Linked DNA regions of Homo sapiens: region 2 is linked to region 1. The links are contacts of gene promoters, found by promoter capture Hi-C in blood cells and fetal thymus (Javierre and others, 2016). All regions are on one chromosome and are shown on one strand. Each heading gives the region's core, a stretch centred on a gene start or on the middle of the fragment in contact. The rest is flanking DNA. Distances are from core to core; before and after follow the strand shown. Region 1 holds the start of KLLN (killin, p53 regulated DNA replication inhibitor). Region 2 overlaps RNLS (renalase, FAD dependent amine oxidase).

Region 1 (4,582 bases), core at 2,048-4,547:
TCATTTGACGCAATATTTGATACTGCTTTCTATGCATATCATAACTAAAAGTACAGTTTTAGAGAAAGTTTTAAGTCACACAAATTTCATGTGTAGAGACCAACATACGCTGAAATCAAAGAAAATGCCAGTCATGTCACAGCTCACATGTAAAAACCTGGTAAAATAATTTTAAGGTCTTAATAACCCTGATAATTTAAAATCAAGTGGGAAAAGTAAAAGTAGTGTGTTATGTACTTTAAGTGCTGAAAGAAATCTGTCTCCCAGACAGCATTCAATTATTTTCTTCAAAGGCTTTTTTTTCAAAGTTACATAAACATTTAATTTTTTGTTCCTATATATTTGGATGACTGTCAGTAATTCATGCTAATAGTAGACTGCTTTGGAAGTCACAAAAGAATTTTTCCATAATTATCTTCTGGGCAAGCGGGTCCAGTTTAGCCTTAGTAACATTCTCAATTAATGTCAACTTCAAAATTTGCAAATACTCTTTTAAAATAATATTTTTGGCTTAACAGAAAACTAAATTTTGGGAAGCTACTTCTTCAGTAAGTTTTACATTCATTTCAAAACAAAAACTTGGGCAAAATTAACTGTGCACATTTATATGCAGCTAACATAATCCAACGGAATAAAACCTCTCCCGATATAAACGCTGTCTTAAAAAAAAATATTCCCCACAATTTTTAGCAGGACATATAGACACTGTAGTGTCACTCTACCTTTAGACAAAATGCAACTGACATTTGCTAAGAAATAACTTTTATTAAAAATACTGTGCTAGTACTTATGCAATTACATAATTTTAACTAAATATTGTCCACTGCCACAATTCGCATTACCAAACTCATATTACCAAATTTTAGGCCTTGATAGAGCCTAAATGCTTCAGTCACTTCAGACCAATAACTTAATTCTGTTTTCACATACCTTATACACTGGCCTACCAATAGCTCTCAATTCCTGTCAATACTTTCCCCATTCTGCAAAAAGAGGGCCCCATCCCCATCCCTAATCAAAACCAATGTGTTGTACCTGAAACTGCAAAGATTAATGCTTTTCGATGACCACTAACTTTTGAAGCCCGAAGGCCTAACTTTTAGACAACTAAAGCTACACACTGTTAAAATTCTTGGGCTTCTGTCTTATTCAGCAAGCTGACTCAGTAAATTTAATACACTGTATGAAAAAAGCTAACATACCTACAATCTAAAGCTGGAGTAAACCCCTCTTGCCAGCATTTCTAGATATTAGCTGGTAAAATACAACTGACATTCTACACAAATCAGTAAAATTAACGATACCAAAAGGTGTCAGAGGACCTGAAACCTAAAAACGGTGAGCAGCAATTCTGGCATCACAACAATACTTAAATTTCAAGCATGAACTGAAGTTTTATTTCTGCAATCTTCACTTGCTACACACAATACCCTTGAACCTACACATTACCATCTGGGATCAGAAACTACTCAATATCCATTCTATGTTTATGACAAGAGCACTGAACATTAAATGCTACTGAAGTGCAAATTTCAAGCACTATCCTACATCACCCCATAGGGAGAGAAAAAGGTAAATATAACAAAGATCTAGTAAGAACGCCTTATAAGGTATATTATGGCACTATTGACTTCAAACTACAAAACTTCTACATACAGTTCAAAGTTGTAGGTAACTTAAGTTTAAACATTAACAAAACTACTTTTTGCCCTCAATGTGCACCATATATACTGAAAATGATTCTGCTTCTAAAGTTATGCAAATCAGTCATATTTTAAAAGAATCTATCAATGCAACTCAGGAAACTAAAACAATCACTGCAAGATTCTGATGCAATATGCGTACGTGCAACACTAATTTTCATTTTATTCTGATCTAAACCCTTGATCTAGGGCCTAAGCCAAGATTTAATCGAAATATGCTCAACCTCAAAAAGCGTCTACTTTTTTGTTCATTTAGGAGACCGGATTACCGAGCTCGCTAATCCACTAACAGTGTACTGTATTCTGTATTAACGGACAATAGCCCTCAGGAAGAGACCATATAGATAGCCTAAGAAAGCAATCGGTGGCTTGACACTTGCAACCAGGCAAGAGTTCCGTCTAGCCAAACACACCCTAGGTTGAATACACAGAAAGGAAACACAAAATATATGACCTAGCAACCTGACCAGGGTTAAATGTTATAGTCACCCAAACTACGGACATTTTCGCATCCGTCTACTCCCACGTTCTAAGAGAGTGACAGAAAGGTAAAGAGGAGCAGCCGCAGAAATGGATACAGGTCAAGTCTAAGTCGAATCCATCCTCTTGATATCTCCTTTTGTTTCTGCTAACGATCTCTTTGATGATGGCTGTCATGTCTGGGAGCCTGTGGCTGAAGAAAAAGGAGGAGAGAGATGGCAGAAGCTGCTGGTGGCGGGGCTTCTTCTGCAGGATGGAAATGGCTCTGGACTTGGCGGTAGCTGATGCCCCTCGCTCTGCCGCCGCTTGGCTCTGGACCGCAGCCGGGTAATGGCTGCTGCGGCGGCTGCTGGATGGTTGCAGCGACTGGGCCTGCTTCTCCTCAGCAGCCAGAGGCCTGGCAGCGGCGGCAGCGGAATGGGGAGAAGACGAATAATCCTCCGAACGGCTGCCTCCGCCGGCGGCCTCCGGAGCCCGGGCCACGGGGGGTGCGGCGGCGGCGCACGGGAGGTTTAAAACCGGCCCGGGTCCCTGGATGTGCCAGCCGCCGCCGCCGCCGTGTTGGAGGCAGTAGAAGGGGAGAGACCAACTCTCCGGCGTTCCCAGCCCTGGAAATGGTGACAGGCGACTCAGACCCCCTCCCTGGAGCTGCAGCCGCCGCGGCCGCCGCCGCCGCCGCTTCTCCCCCCCGCTCCAGGAGCGGGAGGTGCCGCCGCCGCCGCCGCGCCTCAGCCGGCTCCCGCCCGAGCCCACGGCTTCCACCTTCCCTTTCAGGAGAAGCCGAGGAAGAGGCTGCACGGTTAGAAAAGACGAAGAGGAGGCGAGAAACGCCGCCGCTGCCGCCGCCGCAGGCCGGCCGGCTCCCCGAGGGCGCTGCCCCCGCGGCTGCTCACAGGCGCTGAGAGGGGCTCCGGGCCGCGGCCGCCGCCGTCTCTCATCTCCCTCGCCTGAGCCCGGCCTCGCCTCACAGCGGCTCAACTCTCAAACTTCCATCATGGCTGCAGCTTCCGAGAGGAGAGAACTGAGCGCAGTCGCGTCCCAGCGCCGAGCGCGTATCCTGCCGCAGCGCATAAAGAGTCCCGCCACATCACCGCCCGCCGGCCTGCCCGCCCCCTCCGCCGCCGCGCCGGGAGCCCGGGCGCCTCGGAAGACCGAGGGGAGGCGGGAGGCGAGCGAGAGGCGGACGGGACCGCGCCGGGCGAGGGGAGGGCAGGGCAGGGCAGGGGGCGGTAGGAGGGGGCAGAGCGGTAGCTCTGGGTGCGAGCGCAGAGTCCCCAAGCCGCAGGCTCTACTGAGCATGCCCAGTGTAGCTGCCTGGGGCTTGCTCGGGCCGGTTCCCAGCCGCCAGCCTGCAGCTGCACTTGCTGCGGCTTTTGCAGCAACGCGAGGCGAGGATAACGAGCTAAGCCTCGGCCTCTGCCCAGAAACCCAGCCGGAGGCAGGGTAGGCTGTTGTGGGGCGGGGGTGGAGGACTGATGATGAAAGCTGAGATGGGTGCGTTGAGCAGTGTCACTGACTCGAGTCTGAGGTTACCTGTGCACAGGTGAAAAGGACCAGGTGACCACGCTGCTCAGTGTAGAGGGAAATGCAGGGACGGTCCCTGCAAGGGGAATACCCTCCCCCCTTGCCTCTACCCCTAGATTTCCGCGGCGTGGACTGCATTCGCTCTTTCCTTTTGCACCGCTGTCGGATCACAATCGTTCGCAGAGATTTGACTGTAACAGCCTTTGCCTAGAGATTCCCCCTTCCCCCAAATCTGTGTCCTCATGGTGTCAGTCTTAGCACAAAGAGCAACCTGCTATTGTGTCGCCAGCGTGTATCACCTCATCCGGCTCCCTTGCAGCGCCCCACCTCTCGCTTCCCCGGTAACTCGGCTCGTTTGCCCTAAAAATGAAAGCTCTCAGCCGAGCGTGCTGAACGTGAACACATAGCCGTTGAATTTCAAGGGCCCAAAGGGCACCTATCTAAATGAACTGAAAGAGGATCCCTGTGAGTGGGACGCACCCCGCAGGCCTCTCCTGCGCCCGCTCCGGTGCCCCCAAGAGAGTCGAGCATCTTTCCCCTCGGGCTCCAGGTCGGTTCGCGGCGTCGGAGTCAAGCTCGGTTCTCAGAGACCACCTAGCCCCGCCCCCCCTTGGCCGCCGTGAAAACCCGGCAGGATGGATCGCCCGGGGCCAGGCTCCGCGCGCCCCGGCCGGACCGTGCACGTTTGGGGTTACCGGGTTGAGTGGAAAGTACGGAACGGTAGGAAGCTGCAGCCCAGCGAGTGGGCGGGGCGAGGAGACCTAGGAGGGTTCAAAAGGAGGTGGAAGGATACACGGGCCACAGTCGGAACTACTTTCCGAAGGAGGTCACGTGTGTCCCTAGTTGGGGAACTTTCCAAATTCCCACTCCCCAGT
Region 2 (4,582 bases), core at 924-3,423, 660 kb before region 1:
CCGTGAACAGGAAATGATATCCCATGAGGAAGAACGAGAAGCCCAGCCAAGACTTTGATGGTTGGAGAGAGAGGGAGGCAGAGCAAAGAACAGATTCATAGAAGGGGAAAAAAAGTGAAATCTTCAGGAAGACTGTTAAGGTAGTATAAACTAGTATTTACATAGGATCTTGGCATCTGATAATTTACCCCTTCCTACAACTCTTCCAAGTTTGTTTTAATAGGCCAGTATTCTGGGGACATGATTCTATTCTGGATTTAGAACTTTTCCTCCAGGAGGAGGTTTTTATGCATATGTTGAATAAAATATTTATTCAGAGATATGGATCATCTGTGCCATATGTGTGAGATGTGGAAGATGGCAAATAAGAGGCAACATATAGGATTACCTGCCTCTTACTACCTCAATCATCAATTTCTTTTCTTAACTAATATGCCAAGAAACAGTTTCACATTTATGTGGCTATCATGGTGTCCCTAGCTTGAGCCTAAGCCAGCCCTGTCACCCAAATGCCCACACGTTTGGGCATGTCTATGAGATTGGTGAAACTGACCTGCCAGAAGACAATTCACAAGAGAGACTAGATAGCATTTCTGGGGAGAGAACTCCTTCCCAGGGAGGATGAAGGTAGACAAAGTTGAACTATTAACAAAACTTTAATAATTGTTGCGAGTGATACTTCTGAGAATATCATTGTGCCCATCACTTGATTCATGTACTGGACATTCCCCCTTAAAATACCCTGTGACTCTTATAGGGAGATAGGCAGGAAAGAACTGTAGAGAAAAACAAAGAACTTCTCACTAAAGTCTTGGGAGCCTTTGGAGCAGTACCTCTTCAGTATTTGTGTGAAAAATTACATCCCTGAATCAGGGAATGAGGCACTTCCAGACAGCTGTCCACTTTTCATGCAACACAGAGTAACTTCTACATATTATGAATTTCAGAGAACCCAGAGCAACTTTAGGTCTTCGGGGACTCAGGTTCACTGGCCAGAATGCAACAGGAGATTGTGGTATCCATAAGACATGGGCACAATGTTTGGCAAAGGCAGCAGTATCCAGCAAGTTACAGTGGTAAATTAGTGATATGTCAGCTGGAGGCAGCGCTAAATACATTTAGACAACATTGAAGACCTCAGAGACTGAGTTTCAGACATCATGGATATGGGGGATACCTAGTGCAGGAAAAGAGAACAAAATGTCAGGTATCATCTATATATGATATATATCATATATATGTGATATATATCATATATATGTGATATATATCAGATATATATCTATGTAGCTGGCAGTGCTTATTCAAGAGCACACATAAGATAACCCTTGGGGATCCATAAATATTTGTGAAGGGCTTTGTAGGACATTAGAGATACTGCATTTTAATAGGTAGGGTCAGGAAGCAGCACAAATAGAATCCTTAAGCTTCTTGGGCTTAGTGGAAGCCTTTTTTCTGTTTCTTTTTTTTTTCTGGTTGTTAAAGACATCTTGAAATGAACAACATATTTGACATTTTTAAGAGAGACACAAGGTATGTTTTAGAAATTATATAAATATATATATGTTGTTTTTATAAGATTAAGGGAATGATAATTATGCCTATGTAAGCATTAGTCTACTGTCTAATAAATGAGATTACATGTGGGAGGCAATATATATATGAAACCCTTTTATACAATGCCTGGAATTTAGAAGTGTGCAAACATTTCTAATATCCTTTCAATCAGGAAGATGCTTATAATTTGGGGCAGGATAAGGATAGAATATTTGATAGGCTTAGAAAAGAATAGCAGTTCAAGCCTGAATGCACATTAGGTTCACCTGTGGAGATTTTTAAATACAGAAATGCCTGGGAGGATCCCAGATCTCTGAATCAGGATATCTGGCTGTAGGACTCAGATGCTTTTTAAACAGTTCTCAAATGGTTCTAATGAGCAGCCAAGCTTTTGAATCACTAATGTGGAAGATGGAGAAAGTATTAGTTTTCTCCTTTATGAAACTAAAAGCTAAAGGACTATCTTTTCTTTCTTTAGAGATATACAAGGGTCAAATGGAAAGAGTACAGGGATGTAGTCCTGGACTTTACTAATGAGGAGGGTCACTTAATCTCTTTCTTATCAGTTTCCCAGCTGTCTAATGGAGGCTGTGATACTTTCTCTCTAGAGCTATTGTATTAACAGCAGCGATACATCTATACCATAGGAGCTGACCTGTAGTACCCATAGTAGGTGGACAATCCACGTTACTTCTTACTGTTCCTTTTCTCCTCTCTCTAGGTAGACAGTGATTTTTTTCCAAAACAAGTGCTTAAGCATCCCAGGTTTACCCTGGACTTTAGCTTTCCATCTGTTTGTATTTGATCATGTGCCTATCTTGCTAGATACTCAAGATTAAGCTTTTGCAGTTCATAGTATAATGGGAGAGATGAACAGCAAACCAATTATACTGATATTTATTCAATTGCAATTTTGTTAAATGTCACAAATGTAAATGACATGTTGTAAGGATCTCTAACAAGATTTTCTAACTTAATTTACAGTGTATTTTAGCCTTCTTCTTTAGCAATCCTTTTTTTCATATTGATGTATTGACAGAATTTTTTTCCTTCAATGTTAATGTAGAAAGGTTTACTGTAGGGAATAAAAATCCCTTATCCACAAGTATAAATGAACAGATGCATACTATATTTTGCCTGTGGGTTACATTATACATATGCATGCTACTTACTGTTATGGGTAAATATGTGTATCCTTAATGCCAAGTTTTCTGAAAGCCCCTTTTTCATGTATTTTAATAAAAAATCTAGGGCTTAAATTTTATTTAAGCTGTTGGATTAAAGACAAAAAGACTAGTTCTCATTATGGTCTAACTTGGCTGAAGTGACAATGAAGAAGCATCTAGAGTCAGCTCTATTTGGCAACACTAAAAAGAGAAATCTCTCTTACCATGTTTCCAAAAACAACTTTCAATTAAATTTCATTTGGGATTAGGGCCTGTCCTAGTTACATACTTCACAAAATTAAGATTTATAACAAAAGAATCTTAATGTTTTAATACCATTAGCCAGAGCTATAATCTATTTATTTTTTTCCCATTGTGTAAAATTCAGTGTTCCTTTTCAAATGGTATGAAAATTTTCTCTCCAAACCTTCTGGTGTTGGCAGTCAGATTTGGTTAGGTGGAAAAATATTTATTCAGTTAAAGATTATATGAGTCTCTTTCGCTTTTCACTTTTTATAAGTAATTTAGGCCTTCAGGCATTTGTGTTTATGAGAAGTTTCGAAGAAATTTCTTTAACTGAATAGTATAGGTGCCCATGTTGAAAGATTATCTTAAAATTGGCAGTAAAAATATTAGATGAATAAATGGCTCATGGAAGTCACTTTTTAAAATTTATCAACCGTTATGTATTTATGTAAAAAACAAAGGCCATTTTTCTCAGTTCATATTACATACCATGTAAAATAAATATCAAAGTAAACGTTTGAGACAATATTGTAAAAATTAGCACATTCAAACCATTTAAAATTTCAAAGCATTGCTAAAACATTAAACCTTTTAGATATGTTCTCAACCAAATATTATTATCTCTATTTTATAACCAGTGTTATGGACATCCAAGGACAATGTTGATTTTGTTAATAAATGGTGCATCAAATAAGTATGTGGTAAAAAATGAAAAGTTGATACATTTATTCTTTCCTTATTATGTAAAGTCTGTTTGTAATAAAAAGGAGTTCTGTACATAGGGCAATAGATTTATGCACAATGAATTCATAATTGTTTCCCAGATGTTCATATTTAACTAGCAACCATTATGAAAGGAGTAAGGCTTTCAAAGGTTATCTTTCTGATTAACAGCTTTCACCATTCCTAGCTGGGTGATTTTATAGTCTGCCAGGGAAATTAACCATGTCACCTCCAGATCATAGCTATCATAATATAGATAGAATATAATTCCACACAGTTCTATCATATTTTGAAATGAAAACTAGATATGACTTGATCTCACTTAATGGTTGGTGTATTGTCATAGACATATTGAATTTCCCAAAATCTGAAGGAAAATGAACAGTTTGTCAAAGTCGGTATATCTGAAGGGAAATGGACAGTTTGTCAAAGTCAGTAGATGGTTTTAAATGCTGTACAAAAATACAGCTGTCAACAGAGATGAAACATATGACTACAAAAGCACTCTCAAGGACTTGGTGTCCAATAATTAATTTTTCTTTTTTTATAATGCAATCCAGTATGCCTTTGTGTCAAACTTCATTTTCTAAGAAAAGCATCTTTTTGAAACAAACTATCCCTGTAGTAAAGAGGAAAATACTAAATCAGAAAAATACCAACTTTATAGATGGACTAGAAATTTTAGGGACTTCTTTGCAGTCTCAACAATGAAATATAGCCATGAATGCATATGCCTTCTTAAGCTTGAGTGGCTTATTATAATCAGACTAAGTTCTCATACCATGTAATTCCATTGTAGTTTATGACTTAATTCCGTAAGAATTATAACTGAAAGAGCCTTGCCTAATCAAAATAAAATTTAATTACATATTCACATTATAATCTAAAGA

Evidence for each region. The method cuts DNA at HindIII sites, captures the fragments that hold promoters and counts their contacts. A CHiCAGO score of 5 or more calls a contact.
Region 2: a fragment that was not itself captured here is called in contact with the fragment with the promoter of KLLN in region 1 in 1 of 17 cell types (total B cells); the score reaches 5.5 in total B cells.

What each region holds. Positions count from the first base shown.
Region 1 is chr10:87,862,248-87,866,829 of GRCh38, reverse strand. KLLN (killin, p53 regulated DNA replication inhibitor) reads left to right here and starts at 3,297. Exons shown (of 1, transcript NM_001126049.2): 1 at 3,297-4,582. The coding sequence starts at 4,343. MLDHR (mitochondrial lactate dehydrogenase regulator) reads right to left here and starts at 3,271. Exons shown (of 1, transcript NM_001433720.1): 1 at 3,176-3,271. The coding sequence starts at 3,271. The coding sequence ends at 3,176. It overlaps PTEN (phosphatase and tensin homolog), which reads right to left and starts at 3,205. Exons shown (of 9, transcript NM_000314.8): 1 at 2,282-3,205. The coding sequence starts at 2,360. RefSeq lists silencers at 2,911-3,050, 3,141-3,450 and enhancers at 4,051-4,230, 4,481-4,570. The HindIII fragment of the contact is 7,182 bases long and covers 1-4,582 here.
Region 2 is chr10:88,516,394-88,520,975 of GRCh38, reverse strand. The region is part of intron 4 of RNLS (renalase, FAD dependent amine oxidase); the gene reads left to right. Among named protein-coding and RNA genes, the nearest start is that of RNLS, 65 kb to the left of the region's middle. The HindIII fragment of the contact is 452 bases long and covers 1,948-2,399 here.